5 separate regions of the Homo sapiens genome follow, and all the other regions are linked to region 1. Evidence: promoter capture Hi-C in 16 types of primary human blood cells and fetal thymus (Javierre and others, 2016). All regions are on one chromosome and are shown on one strand. The core of a region is centred on a gene start or on the middle of the fragment in contact, and the rest is flanking DNA. Distances in the headings are between cores, read along the strand shown. Region 1 holds the start of GDF7 (growth differentiation factor 7). Region 2 has its middle 89 kb from the start of LINC02850. Region 3 has its middle 38 kb from the start of PUM2. Region 4 has its middle 20 kb from the start of PUM2. Region 5 overlaps LOC105373465 (a long non-coding RNA gene).

The links. Contacts are between HindIII fragments. The CHiCAGO score rates a contact against its expected background, and 5 or more counts as called.
Region 2: a fragment that was not itself captured here is called in contact with the fragment with the promoter of GDF7 in region 1 in 17 of 17 cell types (naive B cells, naive CD4 T cells, total B cells and 14 more); the score reaches 18.1 in naive B cells.
Region 3: a fragment that was not itself captured here is called in contact with the fragment with the promoter of GDF7 in region 1 in 1 of 17 cell types (neutrophils); the score reaches 6.7 in neutrophils.
Region 4: a fragment that was not itself captured here is called in contact with the fragment with the promoter of GDF7 in region 1 in 2 of 17 cell types (neutrophils and monocytes); the score reaches 8.5 in neutrophils.
Region 5: a contact is called between a fragment that was not itself captured here and the fragment with the promoter of GDF7 in region 1, in 11 of 17 cell types (neutrophils, naive B cells, monocytes and 8 more). The highest score is 9.9, in neutrophils.

Annotation. Positions count from the first base shown.
Region 1 is chr2:20,664,350-20,668,576 of GRCh38, reverse strand. It overlaps GDF7 (growth differentiation factor 7), which reads right to left and starts at 1,433. Exons shown (of 2, transcript NM_182828.4): 1 at 947-1,433. The coding sequence starts at 1,337. RefSeq lists enhancers at 754-873, 1,860-2,690 and silencers at 1,354-1,503, 1,544-1,593, 1,664-1,773. The HindIII fragment of the contact is 16,143 bases long and covers 1-4,227 here.
Region 2 is chr2:20,946,463-20,951,069 of GRCh38, reverse strand. No RefSeq gene overlaps it. Among named protein-coding and RNA genes, the nearest start is that of LINC02850, 89 kb to the right of the region's middle. The HindIII fragment of the contact is 2,814 bases long and covers 865-3,678 here.
Region 3 is chr2:20,386,511-20,390,957 of GRCh38, reverse strand. It overlaps the pseudogene SLC7A15P. Among named protein-coding and RNA genes, the nearest start is that of PUM2, 38 kb to the right of the region's middle. The HindIII fragment of the contact is 8,101 bases long and covers 1-4,447 here.
Region 4 is chr2:20,368,949-20,373,371 of GRCh38, reverse strand. No RefSeq gene overlaps it. Among named protein-coding and RNA genes, the nearest start is that of PUM2, 20 kb to the right of the region's middle. The HindIII fragment of the contact is 2,315 bases long and covers 1,515-3,829 here.
Region 5 is chr2:20,402,078-20,406,493 of GRCh38, reverse strand. LOC105373465 (a long non-coding RNA gene) reads left to right here. Exons shown (of 5, transcript XR_001739317.2): 5 at 946-3,303. Among named protein-coding and RNA genes, the nearest start is that of RHOB, 43 kb to the left of the region's middle. The HindIII fragment of the contact is 1,273 bases long and covers 1,732-3,004 here.

The DNA of each region.
Region 1 (4,227 bases), core at 184-2,683:
CTCCTGCCCTCCATGCTGGGTCTCTGGCTGGATAGAATTAAGGCCGAAATTACTTGCATTTCCGCCTGAAATTAGGTAAATTTTCTCTATCTGTCTGCTTTAATGATTTCAATGGAGATTAATAAAATCCAGATGACATACAGCAGCCACACCACAGCCTCACCTACATCTTACCTTTGGAAGGCCCAGGGCAGAACAAGGTGGGGTGCTTAGTCTAAGAGAGGCCTGCATTCCTGCAGGGTCCCCAGCAGGCCTCTCCTCCCCACACCACCAGGATCCTTGACCTCTGGCTCTCCCAGGGGCCCAGCACCAGACACAGGCACCCATAGCTGCACATGTCACACACACACAAACCACCACCACCCAGACCAACCTGCTGAGCAGGGCACTCCTCATACCTGGTTATGCCACCAGCCTCTCCAGGGCCATTTACTTTAGTCTGATACCTGCCTCTGCCCTAGTTTTCCCTGGGCTTCCCCCAATTTGTGTGGCCCGCAGGAGACTGGGAGCTGCAGAAATTGCTGCAAGGAAGGAGCCATCACCCTCACCACCGTGCAGTCCCTCTCGCCGTGACTCCCGGGAACACAGCTCTTGCCCTCCTTTCTTCTCTGAGGGCTCCGAGGCCACTCCAGACCATTCCCCAAGAAGCGAATCTTGGCCTCCGCCTGCCTCCTCGAGGGGACCAGCCGGCCTGCAAGGCCAGGGAGACCTGGGAGAGGGACCAGTCAGCCCTCTGGGACTGGGCCCCGGGAGCTGCCGCGACTCTCGCCACAGTCCAGGTGCAGCGGGCTGGAGAGTGTTGGCCTCGGCGAAGTTTCTTTCTATCACCTGAGGGTGGGCCGCATGGGGCCGCGGCTCCAAATGTAACGGAGCTGCGGCACGGCTCCGGGGCTGGTCTCAGCCCAGGACCTGACGGGATGGGCGGGCACAGAAGAGGCGTAAGTACCTTGGGTCGCCTGGTCTGTGAAGCCGGTGATCGTGTCCGCGCGACCATGGCCCGAGGCGGAGACAGCGGCTGCCCCGGCCGGAGCCCTCCCGGCCAGGCTCCGGTAAAGCGACATCATGAAGTGGTGCGGCACCACCGAGCCGTTCCTGAAGCCGGAGCCCGCGGCGCGGCGCGCGGCGCGGGCCCGGGGAACCGCGGCGGCCGGGACAGCCGCGGCGCCCGCAGCCTGGGCAAGAGTCCGCCCGCCGCCGCCGCCGCCGCCGCCGCCCCCTGGGCTCCGGACCGGCCCAGCCCCCGCCGCTCGCAGCACGGCGGCCGCTTCCAGCCCGTCGCGGGGGCGGCAGGCGCTCAGCAGCCAAAGGCACAGCGCGGCGGCGGCGCTCAGGTCCATGGGCTCCGTGGGCCGGGCGGGCGGGCGGCGCGGGCTCCGTGGCTCCGGGAAGTCCCCCGGCGCCTTTTGAACATAGTGTTTAATAATGGGGGAAGTGTGCGCGGCCAGCCCGCGGCCCCCCCTCCTGGCCCACCCCACCCCCGCCCAACGCCCGGAGCAGCGCCCCCTGCTGAAAGCTCCGGCGGCCGCTATGCGCCCCCCACCCCGGCCTAGAGTGGAGACCAGGGCCGGAGCCGCCTCCTCCCACCGCAGCGCTACGCCCCCACCCTCGCCAAGCGACTGCCACTGGCCCCAGCCTCCCGACACGCCTCCCCGCGGCAGTGCGACACCCCCTCCATCCGCCCAAGACCAACGCGCCCTCCGTGGTTCCAGGCTCGGGGCACCGCGCGCACCCGCCCAGCTTCCTCCCCACTCCCCCGCAGAGAAACACCCGCCCCCTCCCTGCCCTGGTTCCCAATGCCGGGAACGGGGCGGCAGAGTTGGGGCCGCGGAAGGGCTCGCCCTCCAGACCGCTTCGCGCCGCGGCCGGGTGGCCGCGCAGAGAGAGGCCACAGGATGCTCCCGGCGGCCTCAAAGTCGCGTTCCGGATCGCGGGTCGGCGGTTCCCCACTCAGCCACAGACCCCAAAGGATTGCAGCGGGCGGCCAGAGCAGGGGAGGGGGCCGGTAGGGGAGGAAGGGAGGGCGAGGAGCTGAAAGGGCAGGCCTGTAAGAGACCTTTGGACGCGGACCGCCCGTCGTAAAAGCAAGGTTTGGGCGCGGAAGTTGCGCTTCAGCGGGAGCCAAGCTCTAGAAAGAGCTCGAAATGAGGACGGCAGCCCCGGGTGATGGGGGATCTCGCGCGGGAGTGCGCTAAGAGTTTGGCTGTGCGTCCAACTGGCGACCTTCCACCCGCCTTCTGGGCGAGGGCAGCGGCTAACGAAAACCAGCTACCGGCTGTGTGCGTGAGCGGCCAGGAGCCGGGAGAGCGGACGGCGCAGAGCCCCGGGATGGCGCCTCCGAGCTTCTTACCCCGCCGCGGTGATGGCGCGGGTCCCGAGGTGGATGGAGGGGACGCCCGGCAGCGGCGAAGCCCTGGGGCGCACTCGCGCGGGCCGCAGAGCAGTTTGCTCCGCGGCTGGGACAGGTTGCGGAGGCCAAGTCTCAGGGGAACGCGCAGGAGAGGGGGGTTATCGGCTCTGCTCCGCCGGCAGCCTGGACATCCCCCTAGATCGGAAACTTTCAGCTGATCGAAGGCCTGGGCCAAACGAACTGCCGAAGAAGGGCAGGCGGGTCCTTTTCCTTTAAAATTGCATTTTCTGCAGAACTCAAAATCTAGACTGGGTCGGCACGTCGTGATCACCTTGAGCGGGTGATCAGCTTCAAAGCGAGGTCGCCCGCCGAATCCAAAGCCGCCTAGGTCCCGACGCCTGCCTGGCTGCGCTGCGCTGGGACCCACAGAGAGGCCCGGCCCAGGCTCCCCAGTTCCCCTGCTCCACTGCTTCGTCCCAAACGAACTCCTCAGCCATTGCCCTCTCGGCCACCGCGGAGACGCGGCGCCTGCTCACCTTGGGGCATTGAGCCGCATAACACTCGAGAATGTTTGCGGGTGGGAGAGAGAGGCCTAGTGAGGTTCAGTCCTCGCAGACCCCAAGGCCGATCTATGCCAAGGAGAAAGGCCTGACATTACCGGGAAGGGCGGACCCCTGGACCAGGGTCAGCGCTGCCGGCGCTGAGGGACTTCTCCTAGCAGGAGCCTGGGGAATCTGGGATGATCGAGCTGGGATAGTCCACCCTGCTTCTAGGACTGGGATTGGAGAGTCGGTGACAAACACCGCCGCCCCCACTCCGCCAGCCCCCCGGTCTCTCCCTGACGCGGATGCTGGGTCCTACTGTGTTACTTGGCTTCCTTTCCCCCTGCAGCCATGCGCCCGCAGTGTTTGGGTGTTTTACAAATCAACTCGGCTAAGATTTGTGCAAACACGCGGGGAGTCCTGGGTGACAGCAAGTCGCTTGCCTTGTCTTGGCTTCAGTTTACCCGGCTGTGTAGAGCAGAGAGCGGAAGGGTCCTAGCACATTCTTGGCACAGCCAGTGACAAACGTTTGTTGATTACATGACACCCCTGCCACGTTGGGGCTTAGGAATGAGGGATGCACCCTTGCTGTCATTGTGGGAGCAGGCCACTTAGCCTCTTGGAGACCGAATTTCCTAATCTATAAAATGAGCGGATTCTCACCTCATCCTGTGTGTGGCTGGCATAACAGGCTGGCACAGAGGAGGTGATGTAGTCTTGCCCCCAACCACCAGTGTGTTCCCAGTGCCAGGGGTGATCATGGCAGAGAGAGAAGCAGCTTCTACGCACCTGGAAGGCTTTGGAGGACACACATGGGGTGGGCTAATGCTGCTGGAGCCACTGTCCACTCGCTGTATGTGCTCCAACTGAGACTTCACTTCTCCCACCTGTGCTTCTTGGTCTGTATGGTGAGGGCACAGTCATTTATTTATTTATCCGTCCCTCTATTCATTCCTTCTTTATGTAAATACTCATTGCCAGGTAGCCTTCGGTGCATTGTGGATTGAGCAACGCACAGGGCGAGCACATGGAGCTTTAGGATGGACACAGGAGACAGCCAACAGGAAGCGCATAAATGCACAGTGTGCTATCCAGTGGTTCCGAGTAAAGTGATGGGCTGGGGGGCTCTGTGATCAGCAGAGGACACATTGGAGCCGAGCCCAGGAGGAGGCAGAGAGGATGCATGGGTCATGCCTGTCTCCCTCGCTCCCTGTAAATAATGATAGTGCCCATTCGTTGTCCCTTGAATGTCAGGCACCTTGCCTGCTGCTCCACACACCTCATGCCATTTCATTCTCACAACTACTCTATCCTGTGAGATGGGTATTCTTCCCATTC
Region 2 (4,607 bases), core at 1,022-3,521, 280 kb before region 1:
CTCTGATGTTAGCATGGCAGGTATCACCCCATTTTTCTGGATAGAAAAACTGAGGCATAAGCCGAAGAAGCAGCTGGCCCAAAGATACAGAATCCCATTTAATAGAGAGTTAAAGGTCAGGGCAGAAGCAAAGACAAATTTCCTCCCTACCTGTAGAGGAAAGAGGCCCTTCCTAGCACAAAGGGTCGCCCAGCAGCCTGGACCTTACCTCAGCTCTAACGCCCAGTTCACGGCCTGACTGCTGCTCACCACTACCTTCCTTGCTCTCTGTATTAGTCTGTTCCCATACTGACATTTTGCTCTTCTCCCCTTGATTCAACTCAACTGAGAGAGCAGGAGTAACTCTTAATCACATGCATTAGTGGGAGAGTCAAGCATGGATAATACAGAACAGCAGGTAACCCCAAAAATGCTTCCAAGTGGCCCTGGGATATAACCTATGAGTCATTAATTATACAAAGGAATTAGAATTGCCTATGTAAATTGTGACCACACGATGGATGGAAGGAAGCAGGGCTGCCATAATCCTTAACTCCAAAGATACCTTTCAGCCCATAGATTATAAAATCAATGGTACTCCCTGGAGTTGTGCAGTGCACAGCCTGTGCAACTGTATATAGAGACCTTGGTGGAGACCAGTCAAGGCTATCTGAGCAGAAAAGGAAGGTAACAAGGAAGAAAGAATGACCAGAGGTCACACAGAATTGATCACAGCACTTGGAAAAGAAAATATAAAGATTTCACACATAAAATTTAAATGTACTAAACATTTTAAATACAACATTTAATACACACAGCTCGTGAACCCCTGTAATAAGGCATTATCCCATTCGTGCAGACTCACAATAATTTACATAAAAAGCTTCAGAGAGCAACCAAAGAACTCAGTGTTAAATTATGCTTAGGGAAAAAAAAAGGTTAGGGATTGTTTTCTTATTCAGGGACAGGTGGGTGGGAAGAGAAGGGGCCTGCTAGTAGACAGGTGAGAAGCCACCCACCAAGCTGCTCATCACCTGTTCTTCAGCCTATTGAGTACCCAGGGCTGAGGGGAAAGAGGCACACTGTCCACTCTGCTCCCCTGAAGTTGTGTTGCTTTATAACATGTGAAAGAAACTTAGAGTAACAAGTACCTGACACAGGAAGACTTTGGTCTCTAAATGATCCCACATTTGCAGCCCGTTGTAGATTTTAGTTGGAAGAGAGGAGGCATGTCACCCCTTTCCTTTTAGAGGCCGCGGGTCGCAGCATGGACTTGGTTTTCTGGTCGTCACAGCAAAGCCGGCATCCACAGCAGGAGTCTGAAGTCGGCCAGGCCCAGGCCATACAGCAGGGCTTTCCAGGGCATGGGACAGGGCCCATCAACCTCAGAGCTGGGCATGTTGTCCCCTGAGCTTTCTGGTTCAACTGGAACCAAGCTGGGTTTAGACTCCAGTGAGACCGGAAAACAAACCCTGGACCTGTTGCCAGGAGACCTAGGCTTTAGTACGGCTAGCACCCCGACTCACCGAGTGGGTTCAGAGAGTCCCTTCCCTTTCTGGACCCCCGAGGGAGGCTACTCGAGCTTTGCATTTCCTCCTTCCCGACCACAGCCGCCCGCCAAAGTGCCCAGGTAACTCTAGAAGCTGCACCAGGACATAAAACTGCACGTCACCAACCAGCACTGACCCAAGCAAAGACACGTGGCTCTGTGTTCCCATGTCTTTCCTTCTTTTGCCACTTCCCAAGCCCCCCTCCCCTAGGATCAGTCCAGGTTTCCCGTATCATGCCATGCCAGGAAGGAACTCACAAGAATTTAAACATGAAAAATGGAGCCAGGCACTTACCTGAAGAAAACACAGGAAAATATATTCTATAATCTAGCAGTGAGAAAGGTGTTTTTAAGCATGACGCAAAACCTCAATATCTTCACATCTGGTGAAACTTGATCAGTTTCACAGATTTCCATTTAAAGGAGAACACCACCAAAAAACAAAGGAGAGCACCATCAAAAAAACAAATGAACAGATAAACGAAAAGCTGGAAACATAGTTAGAATTTATATCACAGGTGAAAGATTAATTCCCTTGATACTAAAAAGCCCATCAGGGTATGAGGGGTCTAATAAATAGCATCCCCTTTTTCTGCCAAAATTCCCTACCAATGAGGCAGTAGGCAAGTCAGAACCCAAAACTCAGCTTTATTACTGGTGGATCCGCCTGAGAATGTGATTTAGGTGTGTAAAGAACAGGTTCTCTCATACTGGATCCCAGGATGAAGCAGATCCGCTCACCAGGACACAAGCAGCTCTAGATGCCTGCAGGCCAGAGCATAAGCTGAGGGCCACCAAGAGCACAGATTCTCCGCAGGCATGTCCCAAAGGGCAGGGAGGGAGAGGGAAGGGCCGAGGTAGGCATACACGCTTCCTCCTCTCAAACTTGCAATCAGATCATTTACCTCTCCTCCTCACAGTTGGAGTGAGGGAAGGGAAGGGGACCAGAGGAGGACAAGACTTACATTCACTGATGCCCTTTCATTAAGAAATATAAAACATCAAGAAGGGGAATTCTCCTCTCTCTTTCAGTAAGTTCCAACAAGTCAGTAGGAAAATGAGCAACAATACATTAGAAAAATGGTAGGAGGATATGAACAGACAGTACATGGAAAAGGAAATTCAGATACACACAAAAATATTCATAAAGAATACAAAACCTCCTTTATTATATGAAAATCTAAACTAAAACCACAGTGAACTATCATTATGTACCCATCAGATTGGCAAAAGTTAAAAAGCCCTGTCACCACACTGCGTTGGCACAGGTGTGGGGAAATTAGCATTTTCATGCATTGCTGAGAGGATGGCTCAAGTTTTACAGAGGATGGTTGGTCAATAGGTGTCAAAATAGATGTCAAAATCCCAAAGGCAATAACTTTGACCCAGCAAATCCACATCAAGGTGTTTATCCTAAATATACGTGGTATGTGATAATCATTGCACCATTGTTCTTACAAAGGCAAAAGACTGGAATCAACCCAAATGTACACCCATAGAGAACTAATTCAATAAATTAAAATATATCAATACAGTGAAATATTATAGAACTGTGATTATATTTAGGCAGCAGTTCTGTATGTCCTAACATGGAATAAACTGTAAGTTGTGTAACATGAAACACAGACAGAATTTTTGTATAGAATGCTATCATTTGTTTAAAAAATAGAATATATATGCTTGGATATGCATAGAGGCCTTCTAGAAGTTTATATGAAAAACTGGTAATACAGGTTGCCTTTGGAGAAATAAGCCAGGGGAATGGGGGTGAGAGGGAGACTTGCTTTTCACTTTGTATGCTTTTATGTCCTTTGAATTTTATGCCATGTACATTCATTATCAGAAATAAGTAAATGGACTATGTTAGATGCTGGTTTCATCACGTAGTAGTGAGAATCCTGAGGGTAGAATTAAAACTCATCCCAGGCAAGCCCAAGATCATCTCCAACTCCCTCCCTCAGCCTAGTTAGATTAAATCTGGCTGCCAGGCCCCCAAATTGAATGAGAACATCTTTGCTCTCACTAGACCTGGCTTGCCCCAGCTGGGCGAGGGAAGTGGGAGAATGGTCCTGCAGGACCAGGAAACCAGGGTGTTTGCCTCAGGATACTGTGTCTTCCTGGCGGCACAACAATCAAGCCAAAGTGAAGCTTCCAAAGGACAGCCAGTTTCCTCTCCTGAAGCCAGTCCAGGCTGGGCCAAAGGAGCCATAAGTGCAGAGGGAAGATGAGCAAAGTTTGGCCACAGTGTGAGTGGCCTTTGAGTTTTAGAAGGTTCTAGAAAGTGTTCCAGCAACTCAAGACCAGCTGTGATTATAGGCCCACCCAACCCCTCCATCCCACCACCCCACATCTATTCTGCCCACACTTCTTCCTTTCACAGTTCACCCGTAAACAACATGGGTTTGAACTGCATGATTTTTTTCAACAAATGCACTAGAAAATTTTTTGGAGATTTGCAACAATTTGAACAAAATGCCCAGACAAACCGCATAGCCTAGAAATCTTGAAAAAATTAAGAAAAAGTTAGGTATATCATGAATGCATAAAATATATGTAGATACAAGTCTCTTTTATAATTTACTACCATAAAATAGACACAAATCTATTATAAAAAATTAAAATTTATCAAAACTTATGCCCACAAACTCTTACTGACAATATATGACACCATTTGCAGTGGAGAGAAATGTAAACAAATGTAAAGATGCAGTACTGAATCACAACTGCATAAAATTAACTATAGTGCATATTGTACCACTGTTGTAATTTCACAGCCACCCCCTGTTGCTGTTGAGGTAAGCTCAAGTGTTGCAAGAATCTGCTTAAAATGCCACGTGATGCTATTCATCTCCACATGGGAAGGTTATCTCTCCAGTAAACTGTATATTGCAATAACAAGTGATCTCTTCCGGTTCTCATGTATTTTTCATCATGGTTACTGCAATACCATAAACCTTGAATAACACCATGGGACCCATACAAAGTGCCACTGGTGATGCTGGAAGTACTCCCAAGAAGCAGAGACAAATCACGACATGACAAGAAAAAGTTGAATTGCTTGAGCTCTGCAGCTGTGTTG
Region 3 (4,447 bases), core at 1,784-4,283, 280 kb after region 1:
TTCTGATTAGCATGCCTTCCCCTCTTCAGCATGATATAAAAAGCAATGTTCAGATCTTTCTGCCAGGGCTGAGATCTGCCCACAGAAAACTTCAGAGCTGGGTATGGAAGGGAAGTCATGGTGGCATTGAATAGTAATCTCAGGACTCACTTCAGGTCCCTGTGATCAGCCCCAGCGATGAGGCTGCTCTCACTCACTGACATATTTCCTTGTGGCGCAGACATGCCTTGCCCTTTTTGGTGTCTGGATTGTTCATGCTGCTCCACATAGCTGTGTTGCCACAGGCTGCATCTGCCCTTGGAGGCTTGGCTCCAGACTCCTCTCCCAGGAAGCCTCGTTGGGCTGCTCTGCCTTGCCAGTCACACTGCCTGGTGGGCTACGTGGAAAATTTGTGAAAGTGAAGCCAATTGCACACCAGTGGATTCTCGTATGAGGTGGGTCCTCTCAGGTCCCTCCCAGCCCTAAAATCGGGGATTCTTACAAAAATTAGCCTGGCGTGGTGGGGCATGCCTGTACTCCCAGCTACTTGGGAGGCTGAGGCAGGAGAATCGCTTGAACTGGAGAGGCAGAGGTTGCAAGGAGCCTGCACTCCACTGCACTCCAGCCTGGGTGACAGAGCAAGACTCTGTCTAAAATCGGGGATTCTGAGGGCAAAGGAAATTGCCCCAACCACCACATAGGCATAGCAGCAAATTCCTCATCACTCCAGTGCTGGAATTATGGCTCTCCCAAATGAGGTACTCAGATGAGGCTGCCAGTAGCCAAAGTGGGCCAGTAGAGTGGAGTGTTCCCTCCCACAGGTCTCGGGGTGGGATGGCTTCAGCAAGATGACCACCCACCACGCATGGCCCAGCCCCACAGTCAGAGGGCAGAGGCTGGGTTTGCCTCTGAACTTGACCTCATCTTAGGGAGCTCTCCCACCAGCTAAAGAGCTGTGATGATTGCAGAGCCCTGAGTTGCGCCACAGACAGGTTTCTGGCCAAGACAACAAGAACAGATTTTCTGATTTCATGCTCAGGTACCTTCATTCTTCACTCAAATCCCAGGGAGTCTGGGCATAAGGCTGGCCCCAGTTTGGCAAAGGTTTTGCAGTTTCTTGAAAAAAAGTATGAAATAAACAAAGACACACCTAACATGTACTTTAGAGGGCAAAGTTGGAGCCAGAATCCCAAATGCCCAGCATTCAGAGGAACGGCTTTATATTTGCTTTGAAACTCACATTTGTCAAAAATGCTCTATACGCAGCAGGGATCAACAAAGTACAGCCCTAGACCAACTTCAGCCCACCACCTAGTTTTGTAAATAAAGTTTTATTGGAACACAGCCCCACTCATGTATTTATCTTGGCCATTTTCATGCTACAACAGAGTCGAGTAGTTGGGACAGAGACCATTTGGCCCACTGTGGGGACAAGAGTGAGTTTATTTTAAATGCTAATCCCCAGCTGGGCATGGTGGCTCACGCCTGTAATCCCAGCACTTTGGGAGGCTGAGGTGAGTGGATCATTTGAGGTCAGGAGTTTGAGACCAGTCTGGCCAACATGGTGAAACCCCATCTTTACTAAAAATACAAAATTTAGCCAGGGGTGGTGGCAAGCATCTACTAAAAATACAAAAAGGATCCGGACGTGGTGGCAGGTGACTGTAGTCCCAGCTACTCAAGAGGTTGAGGTTGGAGGATTGCTTGAACCCAGGAGGCAGAGGCTGCAGTGAGCTGAGATCGCACCACTGCACTCCAGCCTGGGTGACAGAGCAAGACTGTGTCTCAAAAAAACAAAACAAAACAAATAATAAAATAAAAATAAATGCTAATCCCCCAGGTGACTTCTGACTAGCCCCACGTCTGGGAATGCCTCCATCATCTAGTTGATGTTTTATTCTTTGTGTGGGAACACCTATTCACTGTAAGTGTCACCTTCCCTGAAAACAACCTTTGCTGTTGGTCCATATAGCATAGGCTGTGACACCCATAGCAATGTACACGTGCCTTCCAAAGCACATATACTTTTTCCCCAACATATAAGCCCCGGGTCTGGGTTGGGGGTGCAGTACAGAGATCTACCTGTCTTGCAGCCACCCAAGACCCTGCTTCTGTCTGTAAGTTCCCTGACCTTCTATTGACAAACTGAATTTGTCTGTCTCATTCTTTGGTTTCTCAGCTCTTTTGGCGTTTGGGGGCCACTTTGGATATACAGCCCTTTGACAGAACACTCACAAAGCCAAAAACATTAACTCTCTGGATCCTTTATCGCAAAGGTTTGCCAGTCCCTGCTCTAAGCATGGGGTCTTGTCTGCCTCATTTTTGGACCCCCTATTCTTTCCCAAGTCCAGCTCTGAGCCCAGCGTGTGGGTTCAGAGAGAGAGGGCTCTCGCCCTGTGAACTGAAGGAGCCAGTGCCCCTGCCTGTAGTTCCCAGTTACCCCCAGAACCAACCTGACCACAGGGAACCATTCACCTAAGAGGTGCACCTGTAGACCTGTTTAAGGCACTCAGAGGCCTAGCCGTCCAAAGGTGATTGTCATTGAAATCCCAAAGCCTTGTGAGGTAGGCAGGGCAGCTATTACAATCCCATTTTATAGGCAAAGAACTGACGCTCAAGGAATTACATGCAAAAATTAAAACCAGGTCCCAGAACTCCTGGCTCTCTCCCTGGCTCTCTCTCTGCACATGGACTTATCTCCAAGCTGCTCATCTTCTCTCAACATCTCCCAAACCCCACTCCAAGTAGCCTTTGCCAAGACTGCGAGAGCTGTAATGGCCCTTAAGCCAGCCCAGAGGACAGAGAGGAAAAGACACGAAGTTTTCACTTTGTGAGAATTTAAAACTTCCACAGGGAAAAAAATAAAACAAATAATATCCCAGGCAAATATATTTAAAATAGGAAAGAGTTAATATCTGCAGTAACCAAAGATCCAAATGCTTCACCTGAATCCCAAGCTGTCCTGAAGACCGTCCCCACCAGGGCAGGGACTAGTCAGCCCAGGTCCCACAAGTGGGGTGAGCCAGGTAGGATTGGGTCTTCCCCTGTCCAAAGTGTGCTATGTCCCATAGTAGCCCCCAGGCTCTGACAACTGTGAATTAACTACCTGCTGCAGTGTTCTGGAGAGGATGATCCAGGAGATAGACATAGAGCTGAGGCATTGAGCATGGTCTCTTACAGGCAGTGTGACCGCAAAATCATTTTCCCTTTCCAAACCTGTTTCCCCTGTGAAAAATGAGCTCATAATGCCCACCTCGCAGAGCAGAAAATGGAGACCGTGGGTATATTACTAGAAAGTTCTCTGCTTATTTGCAAAGTGATTATTTCTATAATTACATAAACTAATTGGGATGGTCAGTGGACTAGCATGCAAGTGCCAGCATGCAGGAGGGGAGCCCTTATTTCCAGCTGGATTGCTCATAGTCTTAATCACCCCAAATCTGGATGATTGCAGCTCCAATTATTGGAGTTGCTGAAGTTCAGAGATTTTACCCCCAGAAGTGACTTTATGGGCTCATATGTGGATTCTGGATCTCCTCCATCACATAGTTGATGCTATTCCAGCCACCGAAGGACCACAGGCAGGCCGAGTGTGGTGGCTCATGCCTGTAATCCCAGCATTTGGGGAGGTTGAGGTGGGCAGATCATTTGAGGTCAGGAGTTTGAGACCAGCCTGGCCAACATGATGAAACCCTGTCTGTACTAAAAACACAAAAATTACCTGGGTATGGTGGTCTGAGCCTGTAATCCCAGCTACTCGGGAGGCTGAGGCAGGAGAATCGATTGAACCCGAGAGGCGGAGGTTGCAGTGAGGCTAGATTGTGCCACTGCACTCCAGCCTGGGCAACAGAGCGAGACTCCATCTCAAAAGGAAAAAAAAAAAGAAAAAAAAGACCACAGGCCCTGGTAGAAGGCTAGAAGGCCATGCCAATGTGCCCCGCCTGCAGCATCATGTGGTGGAAGGCAGACAGAAGGGCTTCCGTGCATATGTGGCCCTGGCCCAACACCACCCCCGCTCCAAGGATGACCAGCAATGAGAATACTTTGGTAGCCATGCACACATTTGTCAGCATGGTGGCCAGCTTCAAGCTCCAGCAGTTAGCCACCATCAGCAGGAGGATGCTGGTGACAGCCACATTCTTGAGCACAGCAGGGGGCAGTGAGGCACAGCCAGGGTAAAAGGGAACCATTGCATGCTCAGCAAAGCTCAGAGAAACAGAAGCAATGGTAGCTAGTCTGGCCACCAGCAAATATGTGAAGATGACCAGGAAGGCTGGCAAGGAGCCAAAGTTTCATAAGATGTAGGTATACTTGCCCCAGATTCAGGAACAAGGCACCCAGCTCAGCATAGCACAGGGTGCCCAGCATGGCCAGGAGGCCACAGCCCACCCATAAGACTGGCCCCAGGATTGCCCATGTGGACCAAGACCCCCTGTGGTGACATGAAGATGCCAGAGCCAATCATACA
Region 4 (4,423 bases), core at 1,423-3,922, 300 kb after region 1:
TTGTTTTGTTTTGTTTTGTTTTGTTTTTGTAGAGATGGAGTCTCCCTATGCAACCCAAGCTGGTTTCTAACTTCTGGGCTCAAGTGATCCTCCCACTTCAGCCTCCCCAGTTGCTGGGATTATAGGTATACGCCACTGCCTGGCCCATCTCATTTGTTTTATGCACATGCACACTTGGAAATTTTCTGGAAGGATACAGAAGAAAGTGTTAACGGTTGTTCCTTTGAAAAAAATGAGATTGAGAAGTAAGTGCATCTTTCTGTGGCTGCTGGCATTTCTCCTAGCAAGCATAGTAAAGGAGGCATGTGCCTTTTCTGTGGCTACAGAACAGAAATTTCAGTGACTGCCCCTAGTTTTGTGAATGCAAAGAGATAGAGTATTGGGTATGACATTTTTTCGTAGGAATTGCAGTTGAGGTGGTATATCCTCAAGCCAGCAGCTGGGATAATGACTTTCTTGGCAGGCCAGTTCTGTGGAGTTGTTACAGGGGAGCCATTCCTGGAAGCTCAGCCTTAAGTCTGTTCACCTAGCCCTTGCAACAATTTTGTAATCACCTAACTTTCTGTATGAAGTCTATTTCTACTTAATTTTTTTTTTTTTTTTTGAGACGAAGTTTCACTCTGTCGCCCAGGCTGAAGTGCAGTGGCACAGTCTTGGCTCACTGCAACCTCTGCCTCCTGGGTTCAGGTGATTCTCCTCCCTCAGCCTTCCGAGTAGCTGGGACTACAGGCATGCACCACCATACCCAGCTAATTTTTGTATTTTTAGTAGAGACAGGGTTTCACTATGTTGGCCAGGCTGGTCTCGAACTCCTGACCTCAAGCCATCCTCCCATCTCGGCCTCCCAAAGTGCTGGGATTACAGGCGTGAGCCACCACACCAGCCTATTTCTACTTAACTTGTCTGGAGTTGTCTCCATTGTATGTAACCATACCTTGAACTTACACAAGGAATGGGGGAAAGAGGGGAGACTTATGAATCTCAGAGGAAATCTTCATAGGATGTTGCTAACAGCCTCCTTTGTTTAATTTTCCCCCCATGGATGAGTACTATGCCCGAACCAGATCCTGGTCTCTGTATAGCAATGTTCATCTTTCCTTGTACTGGTTCCTTCTCCACCTCTTTAGCAAGATATCTATGTTTGTGTGTTAGTCAGGACTGTTTGGTTGCAAGTAACAGAAACTGTTAACTCAATCTATTTTAAGACAGATAGATAGATAAACAGTAATATGGTTTGGATGTTTGTCCCCTCCAAATCTCATGTTGAAATGTGACCTCCAATCTTGGAGGTGGGGTATAGTGGAAGGCCCATTGGATCATGGGGGTGAATCTTTCACCAACGGTTTGCTGCCTTCCCCATGGTAATGAGTGAGTTCTTATTATGAGTGAGTCTGTTAGCTCACTTGAGAGCTGGTTGTTTAAAGGAGTCTGGCTCCTCGTCCTCACTCTCTCTTGCTCCCTTTCGCCATATGACATGCCTGTTTCCTCTCCACCTTCTGCCATGACTGTAAGCTTCTTGGGGCCCTTGCCAGAAGCAGATGCCAGCACCACACTTCCTGTACAGCCTGAAGAACATGAGCCAATTAAACCTCTTTTCTTTATAAATTCCTCAGATTCAAGCATTTCTTTATAGAGATGCAAAAACTGGCCTGACACAGACAGCCAGATAGATATTGTATTGGATCACAACCAAACAGCAAGGAGGTTGGGGTAAACCCTTCTTTTCCTTCCTCTCTCCCTCTCTCTTTCTCTCCCAGTCCGCAACTAGCTTTCTCTTTTGGTCTCTCTTTTATGCAAATTTGTGTATGTTAGCGTTCCTCTCTTAGGCTGGCTCTCTCCCACAAAAGTATAATGATGACTACTGGGAGCTCTTGGCTCAGATCATTACAGTTTGTAAGACAGAGAAGAGGGGCTTTCCTCTCCCAACTTCAGTTTGAAAAAAATCCTGTGGAATTATTCCACTTGAATTAACTTGGTTTATGTGCTTGTCTTTTGGATAAATCCTTATGTCATGAGGGTGGCTTAGCTTGATTCAAGCAGGGTCTGTTACTGAAAAAGGCTAAATGATGCTTAAAAAAGTAAATGACCACTACAATGTGTCCCTCGACTGCTCAATGTATACATGACTCTATTTTTATATACAGTGAGTCCTCACTTAAAGTTGTTAATAAGTTCTTGGAAACTGTGACTTTAAGCAAAAAGTATGATTATAGCAATGCAGGAATGGCTAATTTTTTTAAAAAAGTATAATGAAACCAATCTTCTTTTCTCATCAATATTATAACAAAAAGGCATTGAAGGAAACTACATTATTCTGGGACTCACTGTACAACAATTCACTTAAAGTCCCAGTTTCCAAGAGCCCATCGAAGATGTTAAATTAGAACTTCTTGCAATTTTTTTTTTTTTTTTTGAGACAGAGTCTTGCTCTGTCACCCAGGCTGGAGTGCAGTGGTGTGATCTCGGCTCTGCAACCTCCTCCTCCCAGGTTTAAACAATTCTCGTGCCTCAGCCTCCTGAGTAGCTGGGCTTACAGGTGCACACCACCACACCCAGCTACTTTTTGTATTTTTAGTGGAGATGGGGTTTCACCATGTTGGCTAGGCTGGTCTCAAACTCCTGACCTCAAGTGATCCCCCACCTCAGCCTCCCAAAGTGCTAGGATTACAGGCGTGAGATGTTTAAACTGGTTTTCTGGAAAAAAAAAAAAAAAAGAAAAGAAAAGAAAAAAAAAGTCCTGGTTTATAGCATTTGCCAATTTCTGTTATATAATTACTCCCAGCATGGCTAATTTCAAGCTACCAGCAGCTTAACAACTGGCTTGCAAAATTCCTGGAAATTTAACATTTGGCTCTCAAGCTCTCGTTCCACTGTCCCATCCCATACTAGCCCAGGGTTTGGTCTTACGTCAATTCATGTGGCAATAGCACATTTGAAACAAGCAGAGACTTGAAAAGCACTTGCACATAGGAGCTTACCCTCTCGCTGCACCTGGAACTCTGTTATCAACCATGAGAATGAGCCGGATGACTGAGCTGAACAGTGAGAGACACATGACCCAGTTGTTAGGGAAGCAGGAGCCTGGGAGAGCCACAGTAACCATCATTTTAAGTTCAAACTCCATCTTGAAACTTGAAAGGCACATTCCTTGCCAGCCACAACTCGTCATCCTAAGATGTTTATAGTTGAGGAAAACCTACAAGGACATACTCCTACAATAGCAGAAAGTTCAGAAGTCCCAATTCCCATAACAATATATGCTTTCAAGATAATAATAGTTTTGTTTTGATGTACTCACATACTAAAATGTCAAGAATAGTTTTCTTTAAATGAATAGAATAATAAATGTCACGCTCTCTGCTCACCAGCACATAGGCATAGCTGAGTTTAGTTTTTGCATAGACAGGACCCCTATATAAGAAAAACTTGTCCCTGTCTCAAAAAAAAAGTCCAAACAGTTAGAAGGTGTAATCTGATAACCCACAATCATTGTATCAGTAATCTATTGCCACAATAATGCTGTATAACAAGTCATCTCAAACTCAGTACCTTGAAACAACAATCACACTTGCACGCCCAGAGGTAGTTGGAGTTCAGCAGCTCTGCCCTTGCCTTGACCGCTTTACATTGCAGGTTTTCAGTTAACTGGGGCAGCTCTGCTCCACGGTCTCTCATTCTGAGACCAACAAGCTAACCCCCCCGATATGTTCCTCACAGAGCAAAAGCACGAGAGGACACACAGGAACTCACAACTTGTCCTGAGACGAGGTCACTGTATTAACTATGTTTTCCTATTTTCTGTATCTTGATGCTCTGGCATTTGGAAGCTTTCCAGACGCATGGAAAGTGCCCTTCTCCGGGTTGGCTAATTCTTAAAGATGGGAAATAACTGACTCAGACACCTCCTCTCACATGCAAGCCAACCACCCGCCTTTATCGAACTCTCCTATACCAGCCCCAAAGATAAAGGGAAAAACTATTTCTGGGAGGAAAAAGATCAGACAGTATGAATATTCATACCAGAAAAGCACATCAGGGTCATTACACCCAAGACCGGTCGAACAAATCCTTTTCACCCATTAATCAAGATTTTGTTAAGAAAAAAACAACAGTGATTTTTTACTGTCCACTCAACTGGATTCCAGAGAGAAAGAGACTGGGATTTTGTCTCATAAGAATTTTTTACCCTTCTGCTGACTTGTCAGGTCCTGGTTTCCCTTGACTGCAGCTTCCAGAAGAGCAGAGTTTTGGTATCCTGTTCACAGCACCAAAACTATAGAGGCCAAGGAAAAACTTCTTCACTCTCTGAACATTTGTTGAAAAATCAACTGACAAAAGGCAGATTAATAGGAGAAAAGGCATACAAGTATACTAACGTGTGCAGGAGAGAACCACAAAGTGATTACTTCACCCCTTAATAGGG
Region 5 (4,416 bases), core at 1,119-3,618, 260 kb after region 1:
CACTGCACTCCAGCCTGGGAGACAGAGCAAGACTCTGTCTCAAAAAAAAAAAAAAAAAAAAAAAAAGAAAGAAAGAAAGAAAGAAAGAAACGAAACAACACTCTAACTTTTCCCATTAATAAAATGATCACTACCAAATATAGAAAACCTGTCTAAGTAATGCCTGAAAAAGAATACTGTGCTTCCAGGCATCATGCACAGAAGACCTGGGAATTACCTATGTGGGCACAGGTATTGTTTGTATCATGTAACCAGATTAAAGTCAGTAGGATCCTTTTTTACTAAAGGTGGTTATACACCCTTATAGCATGTTATTAAAGGACTACAAAAAGTAAAATGTTCACAGGAACTTGTGTAGGAGGTATGCGGATTCATGGGTGAACAAACTCAACCGACCCTTGCTCCCGCACAACTAAGTGGCCCTCTTTTCCAATCGCTGGGGGCGTATACTGGGTCTGTGCGGTATGGTCATTCTGTTCTGCCTCCTCACTGGTTTGGATCTTGCTTTTTGGCTGGCTCCCTTCTGCCTTTCAAATAGCTTCCTCTGAATGTTCCTGTAGTAGCTTCTATGATCAAAGGCCAAAATGGTCGATAATCAAAATTAGCAACTTTGAAACTGATGAAGATAAGCTAGTTTCCACTGAGGAAAGAGTCCAGTGGGATTCCTGGGGGGCCACTTTCAGCAGTAGTGAGGTACCAGAAGAATGGAATTTAAAGCTAATCCATAAATTAAGAAAAATCTTGGATTTTGCAGCGAATCAGACTTCCTAGGGTTTCAAACAAGTAGAAGTCACTCTGAAAATAAATAACATATGCGTTCAACAAAACCACTCAATGGAACATCACGTAGCTTAAGTTCCCTTTTTATTTAAGTTGGGGGCTTTTGTTTGCTATTGAGCAAAACTGAATGTTTTACCTATTTCTCCCTTGATTTTTTTATTACAGAAAGCTATATTTAAAAGGGGGCTGATACTGCTGTTTTCTAAGATACTGCCACCAGATACGTTAAGGAAATCTCTCAAGAGAAAGGAACAGATGACATGTCTATGGGAGCAACTGACAGTTGGTTTGTAAGCATCCCGAATGGTGAATGGCAAGCTTGGCTTTTTCCAAGGTTTTCTAAAGTATAAATTTCTTCCCTTAGGTCTCCAGGTTATTATGACTTGTGTTACCAGGTAACAACAAAAATGGCCTTTTAAAATCAGGCCATTTTACAGCAAACTATAGTTCTTAATCATCACCAAATCCTGCACCAAGGACTATGCCCAACTAGAGTCAAATATTGTTAAACTGCCTATATTGTCTGAACTTTGACCTGTTTGATTTGGTTAGGTTCGTTGAGTTCATTTCTTAGAACTTGTTGAGGAGTACACTTTGGACTTGTTTGTTTGTTTGCTTGTTTGTTTTAAGAGGTAGTGTCTGTGTATGCTGCCCAGGCTGGATTCAAACTCCTGGGCTTAAAAGATCCTCCTGCCTCAGCCTCTCAAGTAACTGGGACTACAGGCTCATACCACGGCAACCAGCTGGTCTTTTCCTATTATTTTCTTGATCGTCATAATAGTCCCTTGATATGGTTTGGCTCTGTGTTCCCACCCAAATCTCACCTTGAGTTGTTATAATCCCCACATGTTGTGAGAGGAACCTGGCGGAAGGTAATTGAATCATAGGGGCAGGTTTTTCCCATGCTATTCCATTGATAGTGAACAAGTCTCATGTTCTCCCTCACAAGCTTTCTTGCCTACCACCATGTAAGATGTCCCTTTGCTCTTCCTTCATCTTCCTACATGTTTGTGAGGCCTCCCCAGCCATGTGGAGCTGTGAGTCCCTTAAACTTCTTTCCTTTATAAATTACCCAGTCTTGGGTATGTCCTTTTAGCAGTGTGAGAACAGACTAATATATCCCCTGGGGCACGGCATCATCTCAAGTCTTAAATGTTTTCTTTTTTTTTTTTTTTTTTTTGAGATGGAGTCTCACTCAGTCACCCAGGCTAGAGTGCAATGGCGCGATCTTGGCTCACTGCAACCTCCACCTTCCAGGTTCAAGCAATTCTCCTGCCTCAGCCTCTCGAGTAGCTGGGATTACAGGCGTGTACCACCACACCTGGCTAATTTTTGTATTTTTAGTAGAGACGGGGTTTCACCATGTTGCCCAGGCTGGTCTTGAACTTCTGACTTCAAATAATCCACCCGCCTCAGCCTCCCAAAGTGCTGGGATTATAGGCGTGAGCCACTGCACCCAGCCACTCAAGTTCTTATGTATGAACTGCAAACTAACTTAGTATTAAACAAACTGAAAACCTAATTTAGGGGTGAGCTTCTGTAACAATAGCTAAGTCTCAACCAATCACAACAGCCATGCATTAGTCAATCACAGGCGGCCAGCTGTTCAGACCATGTTCAAATAAGGCGAATACTGTGCTGTAACCAATGCAGCTGTTTCTCTACCTCACTTCTATTTTCTGTCCTTTGCTTTTCTTCTTCTGCCATAAATTTATCTGCCCATACAGCAGCCCTGAAGTCTCTCTGAATCTGTTCCGATTCTCAGGACTGCCAGATTCATGAATCATTTTTTTTTCTTTTTCTTGCTCAGTTAAACTCTGTTAAATCTAATTTGTCTAAAGTTTTTCTTTTAACCCTGCCAAGTAGCTCTTTCCATCTGGTTCTTGTCTCATGATGTAAGTGTTTCTCTGCCTTTTCATCTCTGAAACAGAGTCACCTGGCATTGGTAATATTCTGTTCTGATCACCTCTAATGGGAAACTAGCTGTAAAGATGCTGTTTACTATTACAGTCAGAAATTCACATCGTTTACTGTTTTGCTTTTGTGTTATGTTTTAAAGATAACATCGTATGGCCTTCTTTCTGAAGGGCCTGAAGAAGCCTTTGGACCAAAGCAATAAAATTCTGACCTTCAAAAAAGATTATATCACATAATTTTCTACCTTTAAAAATTGTATAACATTTTTTATTCTAAAATAAAAAGCATAGGTACACAAACCTAAGCTTTATTCCCAAAAAAGATGTTTTCTAAGGGAATATATTCAGGTTACAAAATGCTATTTTTAGGGAGCTAAATGATAAGAACTTATGGACACAGAGAAGGAAACAACAGATACTGGGGCTTACTCAAGGCGGGAGGGTGGCAGGAGGGAGAGGAGCAGAACAGGTAACTATCAGGTACTGAGCTTGATACCTGGATGATGTAATAATATGTACACCAAAGCCCCGTGACAGGTGTCTGTCTATGTAACAAACCCTCAAATGTACCCCTAAACCTAAAATAAAAATGTTGTTTTAAATGCTATTTTTTTCTTCAATGTATTTAGCTATTTTAGTGATTCCCAAATGATTTATACTCGATTGCTCATTACATGATAGATTGTGGGGTCAGTGAAAAAAAAAATTAAGTTAGAAGCTCTTATTTTCTTTGTTTTGTGTGTGTGTGTTTTTGTTGTTGTTTGTTTTGTTTTGAGATAGAGTCTGGCTCTGTTACCCGGGCTGGAGTGCAGTAGCATGATCACAGCTCCCTACAACCTCCGCCTCCTGGGTTCAAGTGATTCTCCTGCCTCAGCCTCCCAAGCAGCTGGGACTACAGGTGCCACCACGCCCGGCTAGTTTTTGTATTTTTTTGTAGAGATGCAGTTTCACCATGTTAGCCAGGCTAGTCTAGAACTCCTGGCCTCAAGTGATTCACCCACCTCAGCCTCCCAAAGTGCTAGGATTACAGGCGTAAACCACCGCACCCGATCTGGAAGATTCATTTCACAAAAATTTTAACTTAGAGTTTACGTAATTTAAAAAAATAATTGAAGAGCATCTCTATTCTATAGGCAAATCAACAGTTAATAGAGCCCTCAGTATGTGTCACAATAACTATAGCTTAGATACACCTCACTATATCTAAAACATGTATTTAATTTATAGGAAAAAAAATCATGAAAAATGAATTCAGGAGGAAGACCATAACTTAAAACAAGGTGAACAGTGATGATTCAGGGAAGAAAGAGGATGTCTGTGGTCTGTTCATCCCTTTCCTCTATACCAAGATGGCCCCTTCAGCTTTGCTTATAATAAAGAGAAAACAACCAAATACTTTTGAAGAATAGGCCAATAATACTAAATAGTCATTAAAAAGAAGGTATGTGCTAATATAAAAAGTATCATATAAAAAGCCCTTCCAGATAAATTGTGGGTTTTGTGTTGTTTTTATAGATTTTTTAATTTTTTTTGTAGAGAGGTCCCACTATGTTGCCCAGGCTAGTCTTGAACTCCTGGGCTCAAGCTCCTGCTTTGGCCTCCCAAAGTGCTAGGATCATAGGTGTGAGCCGCCACACCCAGCCCCAGATAAATTGTTGGGGAATTTTTAGAAAAATCCAGAATACGCCTGTAATCCCAGCACTTTGGGAGGCCGAGGCAG